Regions from separate parts of the Homo sapiens genome. Here region 1 is linked to region 2. Evidence: promoter capture Hi-C in 16 types of primary human blood cells and fetal thymus (Javierre and others, 2016). All regions are on one chromosome and are shown on one strand. Each heading gives the region's core, a stretch centred on a gene start or on the middle of the fragment in contact. The rest is flanking DNA. Distances are from core to core; before and after follow the strand shown.

Evidence for each region. Contacts are between HindIII fragments. The CHiCAGO score rates a contact against its expected background, and 5 or more counts as called.
Region 1: a fragment that was not itself captured here is called in contact with the fragment with the promoter of TRIB3 in region 2 in 7 of 17 cell types (activated CD4 T cells, naive B cells, erythroblasts and 4 more); the score reaches 7.7 in activated CD4 T cells.

Annotation. Positions count from the first base shown.
Region 1 is chr20:492,582-498,824 of GRCh38, reverse strand. It overlaps CSNK2A1 (casein kinase 2 alpha 1), which reads left to right. Exons shown (of 14, transcript NM_177559.3): 7 at 1,045-1,104; 8 at 3,023-3,106. Among named protein-coding and RNA genes, the nearest start is that of TBC1D20, 33 kb to the right of the region's middle. The HindIII fragment of the contact is 2,087 bases long and covers 2,093-4,179 here.
Region 2 is chr20:378,414-384,416 of GRCh38, reverse strand. TRIB3 (tribbles pseudokinase 3) reads right to left here and starts at 3,657. Exons shown (of 4, transcript NM_021158.5): 1 at 3,248-3,657. RefSeq lists an enhancer at 1,540-2,538 and silencers at 2,224-2,813, 3,084-3,193, 3,214-3,373. The HindIII fragment of the contact is 2,528 bases long and covers 1,732-4,259 here.

The DNA of each region.
Region 1 (6,243 bases), core at 1,887-4,386, 110 kb before region 2:
GAGGAAGGATAATGTCAAATTCTGCCATAACACAAACCTCTATAAGAGATATCTCAGAATTCCAGTCTATCCAGTGGCCTACTTATTTCACACAGTTCCAATTTTACAGAAGAATATAGCTACTCTTTTGGAGTAAAAGTAAAAATCTTCGATTTGCCTTTCCACCAGTCCAGTATCCAGAATGTTATATATTAATAAATTAGTGAATTCTGTTGCAGAGATAGGGAGAAAGGAAGAGGAACTGCTTTAGAGTCAGAATGATAATTTCAAGAAAAACTTTGTCAGAAGACGTTGCTAACCATTAAAGAGACGTACCTGTGGCTGGGCATGGTGGCTTTCGCCTGTAGTCCTAGCTACTGGGGAAGCTGAGGTAGGAGGATCGCTTGAGCCCAGGAGTTTGAGGTTGCAGTGAGTTATGATTGCAGCACGGCACTCCAGCCTGGGCAGCAGAGTGAGGACCCTGTCTCAAAAAAAAAAAAAAAAAAAAAAGATATGTCCATGTAAAAAACATTCTGCAACTCTTTGGAAACTGGAAAGGATACATAACAGTTGTTCAGAGTTTACTTTCCAATTGGAACAAGAATAGTTTTGTTAAATTGACTCAACAGGTTTGGTATCATGCCATCTGCATACCCACTGGTGATCTGCAGGGCCAACTATGTAAGGCAAAGATGAGTTAGTTCCCTACTAAGGAGGCAGTATATTTGCCAAAATGCCTCTTTTGAGAAGGTCTGAAGATACATGAAAAGCAAACTAAATTATAGGTGGGTGTCAGTGCATATTAACGTATCTAGATCAGTATGTTTCTGACAGTGGATTATAGCTTCCGCAATATATGTTTAAGTAATTCTTCATTTTTAAGAGTTGAAGACCCAAAGTATCTCTTTAAAGTTAATGTAATGTTGGAGAAATAGAGGGCAGTGAATGGACAGATCTTGGAACAACGGTAAATGAGCCAAGTCTTGGTTTGAATTACTGTGAGTGAGGGTGAAAAATGCCTTTCTGTCAGCATTATTTCATGGCTCAAACATTTGTCTTTAACAGCAATTGTACCAGACGTTAACAGACTATGATATTCGATTTTACATGTATGAGATTCTGAAGGTAAGTGAACCTTGAATACTAAATATTTTTTAAATTGGTCTTCTTTTTGTTAAATAGTCAATTGATGGTAGAAAAGCCAGCAGATTAACTTTGTAAAGTATGTTGAAAGAAGGGACCTCTATATAAGTTTTTAATAAGTTAATAGTATCATACCTGTAATCCCAGCACTTTGGAAGGCTGAGGCAGGAGGATTGCTTGAGGCCAGGAGATCAAAAGACCAGCCTGGGTGACATAGTGAGATCCCCATCTCTACAAAAAAAAATTGTTTAATTACCTGGGCATGGTGGTGTGCACCTGTAAGTCCCAGCTACTTGGGAGGCCAAGGCAGGAGGATTGCTTGAGGCCAGGAGATCAAGACCAGCCTGAGCAACATAGTGAGACCCTGTCTCTACAAAAAATTTAAAAATTAGCTGGGTATGGTGGCTTATGCTTGTAATTCCAGCTACTTGGGAGGCTGTGACAGGAGGATCTCAGGAATTTGAGGCAGCAGTGAGCTATGATTGTTGCACAGGCTGGAGTGCAGTAGCACAGAGTAAGACCCTGTCTCTAAATACATAAATAAATAAAAATTAATAATAATAGTATCAGAACCCTTGTGCTAAGGGTTATGGAATGGGGTCTAGTGGGAGTATAATTTAGAACAATTTGAAAAAGGGTATTTGTAAGATAGCTGGGACTGACCCCTTAACAAATATTTGTAATTTCTGTGGCCCCTATGTAAGTTAATATTAAATTTTCAAAACTCGTGAAAACACCTGACGTGCTAGCTTCTGGTATACTTTATCTCACTTAAGAGTCAGCAAATAAAACAGTAAACTTTAACTCAGTTCTCAAAGGGTAATTGTCCTAAGGATTGTGTAAATTTCTGCTTATAGATGCTAATTGAAAATTTACTTACATTTCTAAAGTGGGGTCACCAAATATCTTGTTCCCAGTAGCCACAAGATCAGCTTCCTAGAAGAGAGAATTGCTAAAAGTTGGCTAAGCTTTCTTACTAAACAAGAGTTGACATAAAGCCTGCTGTTGGAGCCTTAGAAATCCCCTGAGGAGATTGTGCCAGCAGAGATACTTGATCTTTCCATTGGCTCATGCAGTTTGTGGCAAGCAAGGCTTTAGAAAGTTACAGATATGATTGCCCAGCCCTGGGAACTGTAGGAACCCAAGTTGCCCTTCAGGAAGGACAAGAATTTGGCCAACAACGTCGGCTGACTGAAAGGCTGGGATTAACAAACCCCAAAGATTATACTACTCAGTTCCCTTTAGTTTGAGGTTGGAAACATTTCAGATTGGATTTGATGACCTAAATCAGGCATTGGCAAACTTCTTTAAAGGGCCAAATAGTAAATATTTTAGGCTTTGTGGGCCATGTAGTGTTTGTCACACTATTCAAGTCTGCTGTTGTTGCACAAGAGCAACCATAAACAATATGCAAACAAATAGGCATGGCTATGTTGCAATAAAACATTATTTACAAAAGCAGACATCAGGCCAAATTTGGCCTGTGGTCTGCCAACCTCTGTTACAGACTCTTAATGGCTAAAGAATTACTGTTCTTAGAATAAGAGGTTTGTAGTAAAGATCTGTTTTCTTTCTTTGAGGGGTCTGTGGAAATAATCTAGGATCTGGACAAGACAGAAAAATTTGAAGTGGTGCAATTTGGGTATACTTTGGGTCTTTTAGGACAGAAAACATGTTGAAACAACTGTGTCAGAAAAAGATCTCTAAGCTCAGAGAGCTGAGTTTGCTTGACTGTGAGATCATGAACAAGTCTCTGAAGCATTGCTGTGGAAGTGACTGTGTCCTCAGCTTGAATCCCAGGGGTATTGTGAGGCTAAAAGGAAAATTTACATGGAGGGAAAAGTAAAGGACTCTTACGTATTATTCAGGCTAACTCCTTTCTGACCCGTTCATCCCACAGGCCCTGGATTATTGTCACAGCATGGGAATTATGCACAGAGATGTCAAGCCCCATAATGTCATGATTGATCATGAGCACAGAAAGGTAAAGTGATAGGCTGACAAGTGTTATTTATCTACATGATGTAGCTAATTGCCCATCTTCAACACTTTATCCCTTGTGTTGTCACAGGCCCTAGTACCTATTCGGCAGTTGAGAAATATTTGGTGAATGAATGTACGAATTTACAAGTCAACATGTTTGAACCATTATTTATATTCCTAAGAATATTCCCAAGAAGGAAACATGAGTAAAGTGGGCAAAATGTTCATCTTCTAAGCCCGGAAACGTGGCTTCTCGCCTTATTTATTGAGTAACTGGTTTCCTGAGAAACTACTTTCTCTCCATTTGCCTTCTTTTTCTTACGTGTACAGTGTGGGTAATAATAGCCCTGCAGGCGACTAGGTATTCGTGAGAATTAAATGTGCACAGTTAAGTGGACGAGATATACAGAAAATGCTGTTTCTGTTTATTGGATGTCATAAGGGCCCTGTTGTCTGCAAATGCTTTTACATGAGAGCTGTAATGGCCACATGCTTTAGCATTTCAGTTTTTTAAGGTGACAAGCTGTGATGACTTGCCTGTTGTGGTCTCTGGGGAGGCAGGTGATTTATTTATGCAACTGAATTACTTTTAGACACACACCATGTCAGAGGCACCACCCTAGGGCTGGGGATATGTAAGTGAACTCAACATACAATAAATGCTTGTCTTTTAGGAGCTACATTTAGGGAGGCTGGTGGGATAGAAAGTTATTTTGATGTAGAAGAAAAAACGAATAGGGAATGGCAAGAGGGTATTTGCAGTTTTAAACCAGTTATAAGGGAAGGTTTCATTGGAAAGGTGACATTTTAGAGAGCACTGGGAGGGACCCAGCCATGCAGTCTTATGAAGAAACATGTCCCAAGGCAGAGTAAATAGCAAGTACAAAAGCCCTTCAGGTAAGGATATGTTTGGCATGTTGGAAGAGCAGCAGCAAGGATAAAGCTGGGACAGAATGAATGCGGGGAAAGAAGGAGGAAATGAAATCAAAGAGGTAAAACCAAATCATGTAAAACCTTATTGGTCATTGTTAGGCCTTTTCTCTGAAGATAGAGAGCTTTTGCATATTCTAAGCTTTAGCATGTTCTCACTTGAAATTTAAAAGTTAACTACACATTTATTAGAACAGCTAAAATAAAAAATAGTGATGGTACCAAGTGCTGGCAAAAATGTGAAGAAACTTGATCTCTCATACATTGCTGGTAGGAATGCAAAGTTTGGCATTTTGGAAAATGCTTAACTATTGTTTTATAGTTGGTTGGTTTCTTGAAAAGCTAAACATATGCTTACCATACAATCCTGCAGTGGCATTTATCTCAGAGCAACAAAATCTTAGGTCCACACAAAAGCCTATATATGAATGCAACTATATTTGTAATAGCTTAAAATTGGGGGGAAAAGCTGGGTGCAGTGGCTCACACCTGTAATCATTTTGGGAGGCCAAGGCAGGCAGATGACGAGTTCAGGAGTTCAAGACCAGCCTGGCCAACATGGTGAAACCCTGTCTCTACTAAAAAAATACAAAAATTAGCCGGGCCTGGTGGCATGCACCTGTAATCCCAGCTACTCAGGAGGCTGAGGCAGGAGAATTGCTTGAACCCCGGAGGCGGAGGTTGCAGTGAGCCGAGATCGTGCCACTGTGCTCCAGCCTGGGTGACAGAGCGAGACTGCGTCTCAAAAAAAAAAAAAAAAAAAAATGGGGAAAAGTGCCCTTCAATGAGGGAATGGTTAAACAAACTGGCATATCCATACCATATAATATTATTATGAAGTAGTATTTCTCAGCAATAAAAAGGAAAGAAGTATGACACATGCAACAACTTGGATGGATCTCATGCTTAGTGAAAAAAGGCAGTCTCAAAAAAAGTTATATGCCAATGACTCCATTTTTGTAGCATTCTCAAAATGATAGAGATAAAGAGCAGAGGGGTTGCCAGGGGTTGGGCTAACACACAGGACATGTGTGTGGTGATGGAACAGTTCTATATCTTGTTGAGGAGATTATATCAACTTACATATGTGATGAAATTGCATAGAAACACACACACAAACACATGCGTGCATGTAAAACTGGTGAAACCTGAATAAGATCTTTCTGAATTGTGCCAGTGTCAGTTTCTTGATTTTGATATTGTACTGTAGTTATGTAAGATGTTACTATTAGGGGAAACTGGGTAAAGGGTGCAGAGAATCTCTACTACTTTGGCAATTTCCTGTGAATCTATAATCTCTCCATAGCAACCTGAACAATCCTTTTAAAAAGCTGTTTATATTTATTTTTAAATATTTAATTATTTTTAAAATAACTATTAAACTATTTAGTATTTATTAAACTGTTTAGACTAGAGGGCAAGAGTGAAAGCAGTGAGACCAGTTAGGAGAAGGGGCTATGGCAATATATCAAACAAGAGGTGGTGGTGGCTTGGATCGGGGCAGTGGCAGTGGAGGTGATGATAATGGTCACAATATGATAGAACCTTCAGAATTTTTTGACAGATTAAATGTGAGGTCTGAGGGAATCAAGAATCCAGGGTGAATCTTAAGTTTTGGCTTGTATGACAGGATGAGTATCACCTTTAACCGAACAGGGGGAGACTGAGTGGAGGTGCTTTTGCAGGGAGTAATCAAAGGTTTAGTTTTGAGATACAGGCAGTAAACTTAGTGCCAGAGCAGTCCGATGTTTTTCCTCAGGGCCTACTGCTGGCACTTCAGATCATGGTCATGCTATGCACAGTGGGCAGATAAGCTTGCCTCTTACCCCTTTTTCCATGTTTAGGATGCATTTTGGTAAAAGCTGTATTGTATGACTTTTCTGTTATTTCATCTATCCAGCAAATATTTATTCATTTTTCTCCTGTATACCAGGCATTATGTTGAATTCTGAAAATTACAAAGGTGAATAAAACAGTCCCTACCCCTAAGGAGCTTGTCGTCCATATTGAAAAAGAAAGGTAGAAAACATAAAGAGTTTAGGTTCTGTTAAAGAAATATATCTAAAATTCAGGGGGCTGAAGGCAATGATCAGACTTCATTGAGAAGCTGACTTAAATATTCCAAAAGTTAAGGAAATGCTTACCAATAGGATTATAGGCTGGGTAGTAGGGACATTTTAGTCATTGAGCAGTTTAAGAAATTTGTAA
Region 2 (6,003 bases), core at 2,408-4,907:
ACTCCAGCCTGGGGACAGAGCAAGACTCTGTCTCAAAAAAAGAGAAAAAGAAGAAAAAAACGTCTATTTCATTTTAGCTATTAAGTGGCTGTTTCTATATTACAGCTGAGCCTAATCCTAATTAACACACAATAGGATTTGGAATTATCCAAAGGCAGTGGGGAGCCACTGAAGGATTTCAGCAGGGGAACATCATGCTTTTAGGGTGGATTTGAAAGTACAAGACGGGGCAGTGAGACTAGCTAGGAGGCCCACACAAGCACGAGTCCAGGCAGGAGAAGGTGACCTGGACTAGGGGGTGCTAGATGGAGACGCGAAGTTAAGGGCTCATAGGAGGAAGATCAAGAGGACTCAGTGGCAGACTGGATGGACTGGATGGATTGGATGTGAGGGGTGAAGGAGAGGGTGGAATCGAGGTGAGGTCCAGCCTTTGGCTCCTGCAATGAGGAGGGATGATGGCTTCATGTCCTGAGCTGGGGGAGAAGCCTGTATTTTGGGGACTGTGGAAGAAAACTGTTAAGTATTTCAGACCCTTATGTCTTGGCAGTGTCATGAAAAGTGGGTTTATACTGTGGAATAGTGGCAGTGCAGCCACTAACAATGAAGACAGTGCTAGTGGGAGGATAAAAGGTACCACCTCTGAGGAGTGCATTTTGACAATATCAAAATGAAAAACAGGCTGGGTGCAGTGCTTCATGCCTGTAATCCCAGTACTTTGGGAGGCTGAAGCAGGAAGATCACTTGAGCCCAGGAGTTCAAGACCAGCCTAGGCAACGTAGCGAGACCCTGTCCCTAAGAAAAAAAAAATTATCTGGTCATGATGGCACACAGCTGTAGTCCCAGCCATGCAGGAGGTTGAAGTAGGGGAATCACTTGAGCCCAGAAGGTAAAGGCTTCAGTGAGCCATGGTCAGGAACTCTAGCCTGTGCAACAAAGTGAGACTGTCTCAAAACAAAGCAAAACAAAACAAAACAAAAACAACGATGAAAAGCGTGTGAGCTTTGATTCAGCAATTAATCCCATTGCTAAGAATTTATTCTGTAGAGGTGTGTGTGTGTAAGCATGCAAATACACAGTTATTCCTGCAGCCCTTTTGACAGAAATAATTGGCTGTCTATAATTACAGGGCTGGTTACATAAATTATACTTCATCCACACAACGGAACAATGTGCAGCCATTTAAAAGGTTGAGGATGCTCTTTATAGGGTAATTGGAAGGATCTCCAGAGTGAACTGTTAAGTGAAAGGAAAGCCACCATTCACGCAGCTGTGTGACTGTGTGTGTGGTGGCTGAAGGAGAGGGCAGTAGGGCATGGTCAGGGCAGACGGGTTCTCTCTAGAACCCATCTGCCCACCCACTTAAACTCCATTCCAAGGAGGTGCATGCCCAGGTATGGGCATTGGTGCGAGAGACCTCAGCCTGGTTAAAGACCTTCCCAACAGTTCAAGGCAGGATTAACAAGGCAACATGAGTCAGTTACCAGACAGAGGCCCACCTCTCCAAGTACGCTGCTCCCAAATGGAAGAGCTGCCTTGGAAGGGAAGGCCTCCCCACATGAGTGAAAGGTCATGACTTTGGCTTGGTAAGAATGCAGTAAGGAGTGGCTGTAGTCAGATATTCCTGGGTTCTAATCCTGTCTCAAACCCTTTCTAGCTGGGGGGTACCCCTGGTCAAGTTCCTCAAGCTTTCTGAGCCTCAGTTCCTGTAAAGTGGGAACAGGATGCAAAGCTTACAGGTTTTTCGTGATGATGAAATGAAAACACAAATGAAGCATGTAGAGCTTATGGACCTGTTGCCAGGTAGGTGTCAGGAAATGGTCATTATTAGCACTCATCCTGTTATTCTTCACAGCAAGATGCATAAGTACCATCCTTGGGAGTCTTAGAAAGCTCCCCAGGTTCGAGGCTGGGATGACACTCCTTACATCTCAAGGCTGTTCTGAGTCACGCAGGATGATACCTGGCTGTGCACATGCTTTGTGCCCTGTGCAGCAGGAGACTGCCTGGAGTCCCTCTGGCCTGTGCCACATCAGTAGTCCAGGCTGCCTTGGCCCCGGCCATCCCTCAGAGCCTGTTGGGGCCTGGGATAAGCTCCACCCAGATGGGGACAGATGCGGTAACTGAGTCTATACATCTTGGGCAAGGCATTTTGCAGACCACACTGCAGAATAGAATCTGTGATGTGGAATGAAAGCAGCCCCTAATATCTACCTCTTGCTGTTCCCTGCCACACTCGGGACCCAGGGAAATGAGGGCGGGTTACATCAAGCGCAAGCGCGCGCGCGCACGCACACACACACACACACACACACACACAGCCCTCCCAGCTGTCACACCCATGGTCTACCCGAGCAAGGCCGCACCCCCACCCCGCCCCGCCCCCCGCAGCCAGGCCCCTCCCGTGGGAGCCCAAGCGAAAGGCGGCGGGTGTCCGAGTCAGAAGTTTCAGCGGAAATTGAAGCGCGGCCCTGGGACAGGAGGGGGGTGAGGCAGAGGGAAGGAGGTGGCTGTCGTCCCCCGCCCTCCCCGGTCTGCAGGCACAGCACACACCGCAGACACGCGCGCACCGTCCACCTGCAAACCCGGAGCCGCGCACTGGGGAGAACCAGCGGCCCTGCCGGGCCAGAGATCGCGCGCTGCGCCCCCGCTCCCACTCCCTCGGCTCCCCCGCTCCAGGGCACCCCAGCCCTGTCCCGGCGGTGTCCCCTGCACCGCCAACCCCTGCCACCAAGTGCCCAGCCCTCCAGACAGCTCTCACCATCTCCTGAGACACAGGTGCTCGGGACCCACCCTCACCCAGGACTCTCCCCTGCGGGTTCACGAGGACCCCCTCGGATCCCCCGCCACCCCCAGAGTCCTCCAGTGCCCCCCACAAGCCCCTCACCGCACCACACGACTCCCCTATCCCGCACTCACGCAAAACAGACCCCCGCACGCCCTCCTCTAGGGGTGACGGCCGGACACCTCCGTCCCTGGCTTCCCCAGCCCAACTCGGGCGACCCCACGCTCCGCGGGGCCGCGTCACCTGAAGCCCGGGGGGAGCACTCAGCCCAGGCCCGGATCAAAAGGGATCTGACCTGGCCGCGCCCCGACGGCGGGGTCTGTGAAAAGGTGTGTAAGGGGCGTGCGTGCGTGTAACACGCGGCAACACGCAGACGCCCAGAGGCTTCCGGCGCCCCCTTCCCCGGCCGCCCCCTCCCGCCCCCCGGCCTCCGGGCGAGTCCGCAGGCCGCACCCCGCCGAGTACCTCGCCCCGTCGTTCCGCGTGGGCCCGGGCGCCGCCGGGGCTCAGAGCCTCCAGGGCACCAGCAGGTGGGCCGGCCCGCTGCGCTGCTGCCGAGCTCGGGATCCCAGCCCAGCTCCAGCCCTGCCCGGGTCCTAGCAGCGGACGCGCGCGGAGCCGCCTCCACTTCCGCTGCGAGTCTCGTGCGCGCCCGGCCCCCGGTCCGGGTGATGCAAACCGGAGCTAATCCCCCGGTCCGGGTGATGCAAACCGGAGCTAATCCCCCGGTCCGGGTGATGCAAACCGGAGCTAATCAGCCGCCGTCTGATGCCCTCGGGCCCGGGATCGCACCATCCCCCGCGCCGCGCCCGGGCCTCTCTCCTCTGCATCCGCTGCACCTGGGACCCGCCCTCGCTGGCCCCCTAGGGGCGTCTGGTCAGTGCAGACATCAGCCACGGACTCTCCCTATCACCTTGGAAAAAAAATTTGCTCTTTTTTTTTTTTTTTTTGAGACAGAGTCTTGCTCTGTCGCCCAGGCTGGAGGGCGGTGGCGCGATCTCGGCTCACTGCAAGCTCCGCCTCCCGGGTTCACGCCATTCTCCTGCCTCAGCCTCCCGAGTAGCTGGGACTACAGGCGCCCGCACCACGCCCGGCTAATTTTTTGTATTTTTAGTAGAGACGGGGTTTCACCTTGTTAGCCAGGATGGTCTCGATCTCCTGACCTCGTGATCCACCCGCCTCGGCCTCCCAAAGTGCTGGGATTACAGGCGTGAGCCACCGCGCCCGGCCAAAAATTTGCTCTTCTGAGCCTCGGTTTCCCCACCTATGAAATGGGAAGAACATTCCTCCTTCTCAGGATGGTGCTTAAAAGAGCAAACAGTGACTGTTGTCGGGGTGCTTCCCCTTTTTTATAAAGCACATTCCCAGCACTGCCTTATAAAACCTTTAGGAGAAGTGGACATGCGGGAATCTCCATTCTCCACATTCTACTGAGAGCCAGCCTGAGGCCCAGCTATGGGCAAGTGGTTCAGAAGCTTCAGGAAGGCCTATGGACTTAAGAGCTGACTCTGGGCTCAAAGGAACCACCGTGGCGCCCTTGGGAGGCCTAAGGTCTGCTGAGCTTCCCCGCGTCCCTTTGCTAGAGGCAGTGCGGCCTAGTGGTGAAGAGCCCCTAGAGCCAGCTGGCCTAAGAGTGCACTCCACCTCCGCTCCAACCCACAGTGCTACCCCAGAAAAGCTACCTAAAACCCTGCCTCAACTTCCTGCTCCATAAAATGGGCTCATAATTGCGCTCACTTCATAAAGTTGTTGTGAGGATTAAATAATTTAATATGTGTAAGACGCTTAGAACAGTGTGTGGCACATTGCGGATGCTCAGTGGAGTGTAAACAATGGAGACAGAGAGGGAAAGAGGCCTTTAATATGCTTGCACCCAAGGCCTGGGAGGGCTTGGTGCTACTTGATTTGGGGTGAAACACCCCTCTGCGTCCTAGGCGTCCAGCACCTTTCTTTTTTTTTCTTTTTTTGAGGCAGAGTTTCACTCGTTGCCCAGGATTGAGTGCGATGGCACGATCTCGGCTCACTGCAACCTCCACCTCCCGGGTTCAAGCGATTCTCCTGCCTCAGCCTCCCAAGTAGCTGGGATTACAGGCATGCGCTACTATGCCTGGCTAATTTTGTATTTTTAGTAGAGACAGGGTTTCTCCATGTTGGTCAGGCTGGTCTCGAACTCCTGACCTCAGATAATCCACCTGCCTCGGCCTCCCAAAGTGCTGAGATTACAGGCATGAGCCACCGCGCCCGGCCTGGGTCCAGCACCTTTCTTAGAAATCCCTTTTGATCTGAATTCACCAGTGTCAAAAAATAACTCCTCAGCTGGGTGAGCTGGCTCATGTCTGTAATCCTAGCACTTTGGGAGGCCAAGACGGGAGGATTGCTTGAGGCCAGGAGTTTGAGAACAGCCTGGATGACATAGTAAGACCCTGTCTTTACAAAGAGAAAAAGATAGCGGGCATGGTGGTACGAGCTTGTGGTCCCAGCTACTTAGGAAGCTGAGGTAGGAGGATCACTTGAGCCCAGGAGTTCAGGTTACAGTGAAACGTGATTGTGCCACTGCACTCCAGGTTGGGTGACAGAGTGAGATCCTGTGTAATAAATAAATAAGTAAGTAAGTAAAATAACTCCTCTAGAGGCTGGGCGTGGTGGCTTATGCCTGTAATCCCAGCACTTTGGGAGGCTGAGGCAGGTGGATCACGAGGTCGGGAGATCAAGACCATCCTGGCTAACACGGTGAAACCCGTTTCTACTAAAAGTACAAAAAATTACTAAAAATACAAAAAACACACCTGTAGTCCCAGCTACTCGGGAGGCTGAGGCAGGAGAATCGCTTGAACCCAGGAGGCAGGAGTTGCAATGAGCTGAGATTGCGCCATTGCACTCCAGCCTGGGCGACAGAGCAAGACTCCGTCTCAAAAAAAAAAAAAAAGTAAAATAAAATAAAATAACTCCTCTAGGCAGAGGCTGGATGGGAGGCAGGGTGGAGTCATATTTGTTTTCCTGTTTCCAAATCCCTGGGGACCAGCTCACCTGTGTCCCAGAGCCTTCAGGGTATACCAGGGCATTCTGGGATCTCATTTAATCCTGGCAACTCCCCTGCTGGGGAGGGGTGAATAAACTCATCCTCTATCCTGGGACACCGAAATGGTTAGGAAGATCCCACAGCTGTGAGGGGTGAAGAAAGGTGGGAGGGCTGTTTCCTGAGCACCCCTCTGAAGGTGTGC